Regions from separate parts of the Homo sapiens genome. Here regions 2 and 3 are each linked to region 1. Evidence: promoter capture Hi-C in 16 types of primary human blood cells and fetal thymus (Javierre and others, 2016). All regions are on one chromosome and are shown on one strand. Each heading gives the region's core, a stretch centred on a gene start or on the middle of the fragment in contact. The rest is flanking DNA. Distances are from core to core; before and after follow the strand shown.

Region 1 (2,816 bases), core at 220-2,719:
TTGACATTAAAATAAGAAAAGTAACCTATAGACAGAAAGAAGGTTGTATTCCCATTAACATTCATGAGGGCTAAGCAGCCGAAGTCCTACATATCAAGCAGGGAATATATCCTTTGTCTGCTGATGAGAGAACGTCTCAGTGATAAATGGTTACAGACAGGGGTGTCATGAGGGCAACAACACACAGAACAATTCAGACAAACTTTTTAAAAAAGTCTTCTCCTGCAGTTTTTTTTTGTGGCGCTGGGAAGCACAGTGCCTATCCCTGCTAATAAAAGAAAACTATTGCAATGCAAAACTCCTAACCTTTGCAGAGGCACTTACCAGAAAACCAAAAACATACTCTTTGAAAAACAATTTAAAACCAAGCTTCAAAGGCTTTCTAATGTATAAATATTCAGACATTCTGAAAAGCACTGCTCTGCACCCTGCACCCCAGCTATTTGTGCCTAAAATGGATATTGTCGTAACAGTTAGCATGGTTGTCAAAGTGCAACGTCTCTAATATCAACACTGAGAGACATCAGACTCATTAAAATGCTTTACATTCATTAATTAGGTTGGTGCAAAAGTAGTTGCGGCTTTTGCCAAAGTCATACATAAATTCAAACACATTATGATACTCATTTAACACATTTGTGATAAAAATCATGTATGAAGTCATGAGTTTATTTAATAAGCTAATATTCCATAGAGTCCAATGGTGACTACCAATGACTCAGTTAATTTTCAAACCAAAATAAGTTAGATTACAATTTGTTGACTCCCTTGACTCCTCGAGCCAGGGAAAACATTTCCTGGGGCCTGACTCTAGGTGGCTCACTTCCCTCACCTAAAAACAGGAAGGGTGAGACAACCCCCTCCAACCCTCGTCCTCGGTCCCCCAAGGATTTCTCTCCAGAATTCTGCCTCTTCTGCAGCAGTCTGGAGTCTTCAGCATGAAAAGGGTAACAAACATGGCGCAATTTTCTGAAACCGTGATGTCAACAGTGTTTTTGAGGTGTCCTTTCCCACCCTAAAGAAAATTCGAGATGCACAGCAAGAAAAAAATGCAAGACAGCTCCCCGACACATCCTGAGCCACGCCTCGTCCTCAGGGTGCACCCGACAGTCTCTGCCAGCGCAGTGTGGACGCTGGACAAAGACGCAGCCAGTAGGTCGCTGGTGGTCGCGGGTTGGATCCGCTGACTTGGCCACCAAATCTTTTCCTCGGGGAGTGAAGCGGCACGGAAGGAGCGGAGTCAAGGGCGGGGCTGGGGATTGGACCCGCCCCCGGGCCCGGGGATTGGACCCGCCCCCGGGCCCCGGAGGAGTCCCTGCGCCTGCGTGCCGGGCGTGGACCTGTGGTTGGACTCCCCCGTTTTGGGCTGCCCTCCGCGTCCTCCCCCGCCCCTTCCCACCTCCGCCCACTTGACGCGATGACGCATCTCAGGTTTGCGGACGTGGCGGCGGCGTACGGCCCGGAAGGCGGAGACGTTGGCGGCAGAGGCGGAGGCGGACGGGGTCAGCCCAAAGCAGAGGCTCGGCCATGAACTTACCCGGGACAGCGGCGGCGGCGGACCTTTTGGCCATCTTCTCGCAGAGTGCTCCCTGCTAACGGGGACAGGTAAAGATGGTGGCAGGAGGTGAGGGTAGCCCGGTCCAGGAGGGCGGGGTTGAGCCCCAGCTGCGTCCTCACGGGAGGCGCTGAGCCTCGGCCACAGGTGTGGTGGGGGCTGCAGGGCCGGGCTCGGCCCGTGTGGCGGACACCCCCGAGACAGGGAAGAACTTCCAGACCAGCCCTGCCAGGCCCTCTTGTCACACTGTCGGGGAAACTGAGGCTCAGAGGAAGGACGCCTACCTGCTGGATTACCTGGGCAGCTAATTTCCCACCCAAACACAGCATTTCTCCCACGACTTTATGTTGGCGTGAAATATTCGCTGACGGCATCTTGTCACATCGTTCAAGTGTCATGCTGTGACAGAAGACTCTGAGACGTAATCTTCGCTGACGATAGCAGGGAAAGAAAAACTTGACGTGTGGAATACAGAGGGAGGAGGTAGTTAAGTTTTAAAAAACAAAATTGTCCCTGGCAGCGGATAGGGTGCCTTTGATTCTGTCCCTTTGCAGCTTTAACTTGTGCCCTGTGACCCTCTTATTGCACCTTGCTTAGTTAAAGAAGGTCAAGGCGAAACACCCAGCAGCCATTCTACAGTACGAAGGTGTTTGGGAAACCGTTTTCAGTTACAGACTGAGCTGAAGAATGCTTTAACACTGTTTTGTGGCCCCTCGTAATCTAGGTAGCACGCAGGCTTGTTCCAAGTTTCTGAAAGGGAGTTCGTGCCTTTTTCCTGCTCTAAGAGAATTAAGAGAGGTGAATAGAATTGAGCCAGATGACTTAAATATTATGTATTTTCTAATCTCTGAGTAGTAGACTGGAGTGATCGCCTGGGTCAGTCTGTTCACTTCGGTTGAAGACACAGCCAGTTCTTGATCATTCAGAATACCCAGATTTGTAACACGATAGTCAGCTGCCTGCATTTCATTATAAAGGGGAGTGGAGAGATAGTGAGACAGGTGAAGTTCTGACCTTTAAATTATATTTAGAAATATATCGTGGAGAGAGGTTGATAGAAACAAGTATCTAAAATGGCTTTGGGGCATTGCTTAGTGATTTTCAGTTAGCTGCACTACTAAGCCAATTTTGAAGTTCTAAGTACAAATTATTAGGGTGAAACTGTCTAACAAGACACATAAGTAGGTCGGTATAGCCAAGTGTAAATTGCTGTATATTAAGTCTTAACTTTTTTGATCATGGATGCCTTTTGAGAATATGA
Region 2 (2,816 bases), core at 140-2,639, 780 kb before region 1:
AGGTGCTCGCTTCAATATGTCAAATGAGGACTCTCATTACATTTGGCTGTCATACATCAGCCACAACTGTCCTGCCCAGAAGAGCTGGCCTTGGCTTTAAAGCCTACATCCTGGCTGACCTTCTTTACTGCTTTATTAAGGAATCCAACTTGCTGTTTGCTATCACATGTGCTATACATGCTGTTGATGAAACTGCTAAAGGGGCTGAATGTGACTGACGTCTTTGGAAGGATGAGACTTAGCGTGCCTGTACAGTTGTGTCCAAATGCTGTCCTCATCTCCCAATGAAAAGGTATTGTAAATAAAGAGAAAGATCAGAGGCTTATTTTAAACACTAAATATGAGCTAGGAGCTGTCCTAGACACTATGTAAAAGTTTTATTTAGTTCTCACTGTAATGTTGGCCTTATGTTAGCATCCCATTTTTCAGACTGAGGAAATTATGGCTCAGAGAGGTTAAGAGACTTATTGAAGGTCACACAGCTCCACAAACTTTGGTGTAGATTGAACGTGTACATGGGTCTATGTGACTTTGAATCTTGCATTCTTTACATTATTGGAATATTTCACAGAAGGAAAATGACATATTAACATGGCAATAAGATTTCTGGTTCCAGTCTGGTTACTGGTCTTCCAAGAGTGTTATAGGATGTATAGCCTGAGCTCTGAAGCTTTGTTCTGAAGCATGCTATCAATATGAACAAATTGGTATGGAAGGAAGCCACAAATTATATACTAAAATCTAGTTCATCAGAGGAAAATATAGTTAAATACATTTACATTCCCAGAACTGTTAATATTGAAGAATAAAACACACAGTGGGAAAGAGACGAAGAGAAAATACGCCTGTTTTTATGACTTGTTGATATCTACAGGGTTTTTCCTTAAGCCTCACAACAATTTACAGCATTGCCAGCAGCATTCAGTACATTCAGAACAGGATAATTTCACCCGCAGCTGAACTAGGGCCATGCCTGGGACAGACAGAGAATGGCCTTCCAGCAGACATGCCAAGAAGCAAGCCAGGGTCAGTGAGTGAAGAGGAGGGCAGGCCCATTTGAAGCAACACAGTTTATGTAAGTGTGATCTAACTGCTTTCACTGGAAATGGGTCAGACTCCAGTTGAGAGAACCAGGGGCCTGAATGACCCCAGCAAAATCACTGTGGCAATTCTTTCAATCACCTCTGAGAATATGGCCCTGTGACGACATAATGACGTTTGGATTAATTCCAGTCGGCTGTGTTTTCCCCTCCTTTCTTGCCTCCCCGTAGTTGATTTGCCAAATTTTTTTTGTTTGCTTAAATACGCGGAACTAAACAGGATACATTATATGACAGTCTGTGATAAATTTACCACTGGGAATAGGGAAAAAGTATGGGATAAAGAAATAGGTATTTTTCGCCTCTCACAGCTGTGATTCAGTTCTGACTCAAAAGGAAGTGTGCCACCTACTGAATCACAGAAACCACTTCCTGTGGCTGTTTGGTTTATTCTGGAGGAGCATCAGGCCAAGTGCTGCCCTGCCCTGACCCTGACTGGCTCTTCAGAGCCAAGGCATTCACAGCTTGAGGTGGTTTGGCCTCAGACTCTTGAGAACATTGCATATTAAATTACAAGTGTTTCGTTTCCTAGCAAGGAGTCTTTAGCAACATGAAAACGAACGTGTGTTATTTGCAAACCAAGTATATCATTACTGAACCTGAATATCCTTACTTTTTCATAAGGTACGTATTCCGGATGACCACTCTTAAGATCTGAATGTACACTGGTTCTGTTTTTCCTGAGGGGAACTTGGGCAGTCTGCAGGGTGGCATTTACCAGCTGAGGGACTTCAAGAGCACCCTTTAATCAGTGTGGCAGCACTCAACTTGTATTCACTCACTCAGAGTATTTTTGAGCATGTACTTATTGCCATGTGCTGTGCTAGGTAGGGGTAGAGGGTACAGTGGTGAACAAGACCCCACAGCTCCTGACCTCATGGCTCATGTGTTCTACACCATAAGGGAATCAAGCTGTGTCTCCCGGGGCAGGGGCCTTCCTCTGTTCACCATGCAGCCCCAGCATCTAGCACCTGGCGTTGCATAAAGGAGGCTCTAAATCAAGCTTGTCCAACCCAAGGCCCACGGGCCACATGTGGCCCAGGATGGCTTTGAATGCAGCCAAACACAAATTTGTAAACTTTCTTAAAACATTATAAGATTTGTGTGTATGTGTTTTAGTCCATCAGCTATTGTTAGTGTTCATGTATTTTATGTGTGGCCCAAGACAATTCTTCTATGTGGCCCAAGGAAACCAAAGATTGAACACTCCTGCTCTAAATACTTGTTTGTTGAATAGATACATGAAAAGAAAGAAGGAGAGAAGGAAGAAAGGAGGGCGGAAGGAAAGGAAGAAGGGAGAGAAGAAGAGAAGAAAGAAGCAGAGAAAGGAAGAGAAAAGAAATTACGGCCAGTGCGGTGGCTCACGCCTGTAATCCTAGCACTTTGGGAGGCCTAAGCGGGCTGATCACCTGAGGTCAGGAGTTCGTAAGCCAGCCTGGCCAACATGGTGAAACCCTATCTCTACTAAAAATACAAAAATCAGCAGGGCATGGTGGTGCGTGCCTGTAATCCCAGCTACCTGGGAGGCTGAGGTAGGAGAATCGCTGGAACCCGAGAGGCGGAGGCTGCAGTGAGTTGAGATCATGTCACTGCACTCCAGGCTGGGCAACAGAGTGAGACTCTGTCTCAGAAAAAAAAAAAAAGAAAGAAAGAAAGAAAGAAAGTTACCATTAGTTTTTTGTTGTATTTGCAAGCAAAGACAAAAGCACCAAGGTA
Region 3 (2,816 bases), core at 100-2,599, 600 kb after region 1:
TGCTTCCAGTAAGTTTCATATTCCAGAAGTCCACCCCAGATTTCTTTTTAGACATTGTCCTTTAATTTGCTAAATGTCTTTGCTCCTAATACCTTCTTCTCTCTCAATTTTATGGTGGCTATCTTAAGGCTATTAGGCTTGAATTAAAAGATCATATCCTTAATTTGATCTTTGCAATGAATCACTTTATTAATTCAGAATGTTTGCCATATCATAAATTAAAGAATTGATGTGTGTCTTAATATAGATTTTGGAAGAGACAATGAGGCTAGTGAGAGAAAAGTTGAAATCATCTACATCCCTAGTTCTCAATGCCCTGCAGGGGAGATTTTCAATGTCTGGATACAATTTTTATTTTCAAAAATGGGGTGGAGTGGGGGATGGGTGGTGCTAGTGCTACTGGCATTTAGTGTACGAACGCCAGGGATATTGATAAACATTCTACAATGAACAGGGCAGCCCCACACAGCAAAGAATCATCTGGCTGTTCCAGATAACACACACAGACTTCTTCAAGAACCACTTAAGCTCTAATACGCCAGCATTTTCCAACAATATTAAGAAAGGTTGACAGTGCTTTTCACCTTTTTCAGATTTCATTGTAATACCCACGATTGAGATGGTTGGAGATAAAGCCATTATCCAGTGATAGTTCATCATGTTGAAGGAATCCTGCTGTATGTATTTTATATATTTTGATATGGATATGTGATATGCACCCTTAATACAATTCTAGTCTATAACAGCTACCTAACAATATTTCAGAATGAGCTTTTTCTAGTATTCTGTGCCATTAAAGAGTGGCCCCTTTGTACATTAATGAAAGCTTGTCCTTTAGAATGAATAGGAAGTCTAAGAATTTGGCTAAATACCATCTTTCTGGAAGAGGAAAAAATTAATGGCAAAATATTAGAAATATAATTGATCAAATGCAATACTCATTGTAGTCAAGAGTAAGTAATGCAAAAATCTGTAATTCTCATGAAAAACAATATTAAAATTGTGTTCCCGGGAAGTTAGTAACATTTTGACATTTTTTCTCTATTCTTTAAATGGTTCAGAGCAACTATTTATTAATTAGCATTTTCTTTAAGAAAAACTAATATCGTTGTGGAGGATTAACTTCACTTTGGAGTGTACTACTCCCTTAAAAGGACCATTAAAAGGCTATAAAATTAATTGTTTTCTACTAATAAGTTATTATTTAGAATCACTTAGTTTCATCTACCAGAAAAAAATGCTTTTTGAGTTAGAGGTTTTATATTATCTCAGTCTTCTCATCCATGATCAATACTTACTCCATTTTTGTTATTATATCTGTTTCCTTCTGGTTCTCATCTTAGCTCAAAAGAAAAAGGATGATTGAACAAAATACCTTTTGAGTAGTCTCTCTGCTCCTCAAAGCACATGTCTTCATAATTATCTCAAATTTGCATATTTATTGTTAAATAAATATAAGGGGAATTTATTGCAGTATGCTGCATTCTTTGCACTCTCTGTGTCTTGTTTGCATCTTGCCTGTTTTGATCGTTTTAGATTAGAGGCACATGAATTATCATTTATTTTAAGTGCTATATTATAGTCATTTTTGCAGAGAAAGAAAGCAGTCAAAAAACAGATTGTCCAACTTCTTATAAATGAGAATGTCACAAATAAAATGCCAGTTTGTTCACCTTGTCCTTTGCACTAACGTCAAGCCATTCTCTTCGATGCCTTTTTTGTAATTATGAGTAATAGCCCAAATATTTTACAGCAGAGAGATGAGTCACAAAGCGGAAGAACTATAAATACTTTTGTTCTCGAGAAACAATGAAGCTGTATATTCTTTCACATTCACCCACCACATATGTGTTTTATTTAAGGTTAAGCTTTTTTAAAAACAACTTTCTCCTGCTTTAAGAGTTCCAATCTCCAGTACAAGTTTTGTTTTCCAGTAAACTGTTTCATTGTATTTGATGCTTCATAAATGTATCTAAATCTAGCTCATCATGCACTGCTAGCTACACCTAATCATACACACATGTCTGAATTACTCCACTCCTATTTAAAGGAAAAGAACAAAAAGTAAGAATGGCAGATGTGTTCATAATTAATATCCTACTGGGTTAATCAGTAGATCCTCAGGAATGCTATGAGGGTTTTGATGTATTCAGAAAATCACTGCCTTTATCTATAGACCTCTTTAAAGACAAACATACAACAGTTAGTTTTTAGAAGATGTGATCCTTGCAAATAAGATAGTAAATAATATTGTCACAGACTTGCCTCTTTGAATAACCTAATTCCATGCTTGATTTTATATGTTTAAGTGAGGAATTTATGGTTCATATTTACAGCCAGTGATATGTGCAAGGATTGCTGTTTACTAACATCACACTCAAAATTTCTTGTAGACATTTCAAGCAATTTGAAGTATAGTTCTTCTAGAAGTAACTAAATATAAACAAGATGGGCACTTTTTTTAAGGAGATTGATATTTCAGAATTGTTGATCACTCCTATACTTGTGAATGAGAGAATATAAGAGACATGGTAATTCACTGAAGGAGAAGAAGAAGAAGGAGAGCATTGCATTATTGGAAAAACTCCATCTTTATAGCGAGACAATACTGAGTTGAAAGCTCAGTCTCCCACTGTGCAACTCTAGGAATTGCTTAAGAGCTCTGGTCTTTGGTTACCTCATCTACTAATGCAGAATAATAACACTTCTGTCTTAAGGTTTAGAGTGTTAAAATAAAGCAGTACTTGGGACATTGAAAAATGCTGAATTTAAAAGTCCTGTTTCATGGGGAATATGAAACTTTCATTCTAAAAAGA

What was found. Contacts are between HindIII fragments. The CHiCAGO score rates a contact against its expected background, and 5 or more counts as called.
Region 2: a contact is called between a fragment that was not itself captured here and the fragment with the promoter of LYSMD3 in region 1, in 5 of 17 cell types (total CD4 T cells, naive CD8 T cells, non-activated CD4 T cells and 2 more). The highest score is 9.3, in total CD4 T cells.
Region 3: a contact is called between a fragment that was not itself captured here and the fragment with the promoter of LYSMD3 in region 1, in 1 of 17 cell types (endothelial precursors). The highest score is 5.5, in endothelial precursors.

Annotation. Positions count from the first base shown.
Region 1 is chr5:90,528,237-90,531,052 of GRCh38, reverse strand. LYSMD3 (LysM domain containing 3) reads left to right here and starts at 1,469. Exons shown (of 3, transcript NM_198273.2): 1 at 1,469-1,605. RefSeq lists enhancers at 813-1,072, 1,698-2,198 and a silencer at 1,183-1,432. The HindIII fragment of the contact is 4,420 bases long and covers 372-2,816 here.
Region 2 is chr5:91,310,554-91,313,369 of GRCh38, reverse strand. LUCAT1 (lung cancer associated transcript 1) reads left to right here. Exons shown (of 5, transcript NR_103548.1): 3 at 141-292. Among named protein-coding and RNA genes, the nearest start is that of LUCAT1, 2.4 kb to the left of the region's middle. RefSeq lists enhancers at 988-1,532, 895-2,094. The HindIII fragment of the contact is 1,433 bases long and covers 673-2,105 here.
Region 3 is chr5:89,929,867-89,932,682 of GRCh38, reverse strand. The region is part of intron 2 of LOC102724637 (a long non-coding RNA gene); the gene reads right to left. Among named protein-coding and RNA genes, the nearest start is that of MIR3660, 85 kb to the left of the region's middle. The HindIII fragment of the contact is 1,042 bases long and covers 829-1,870 here.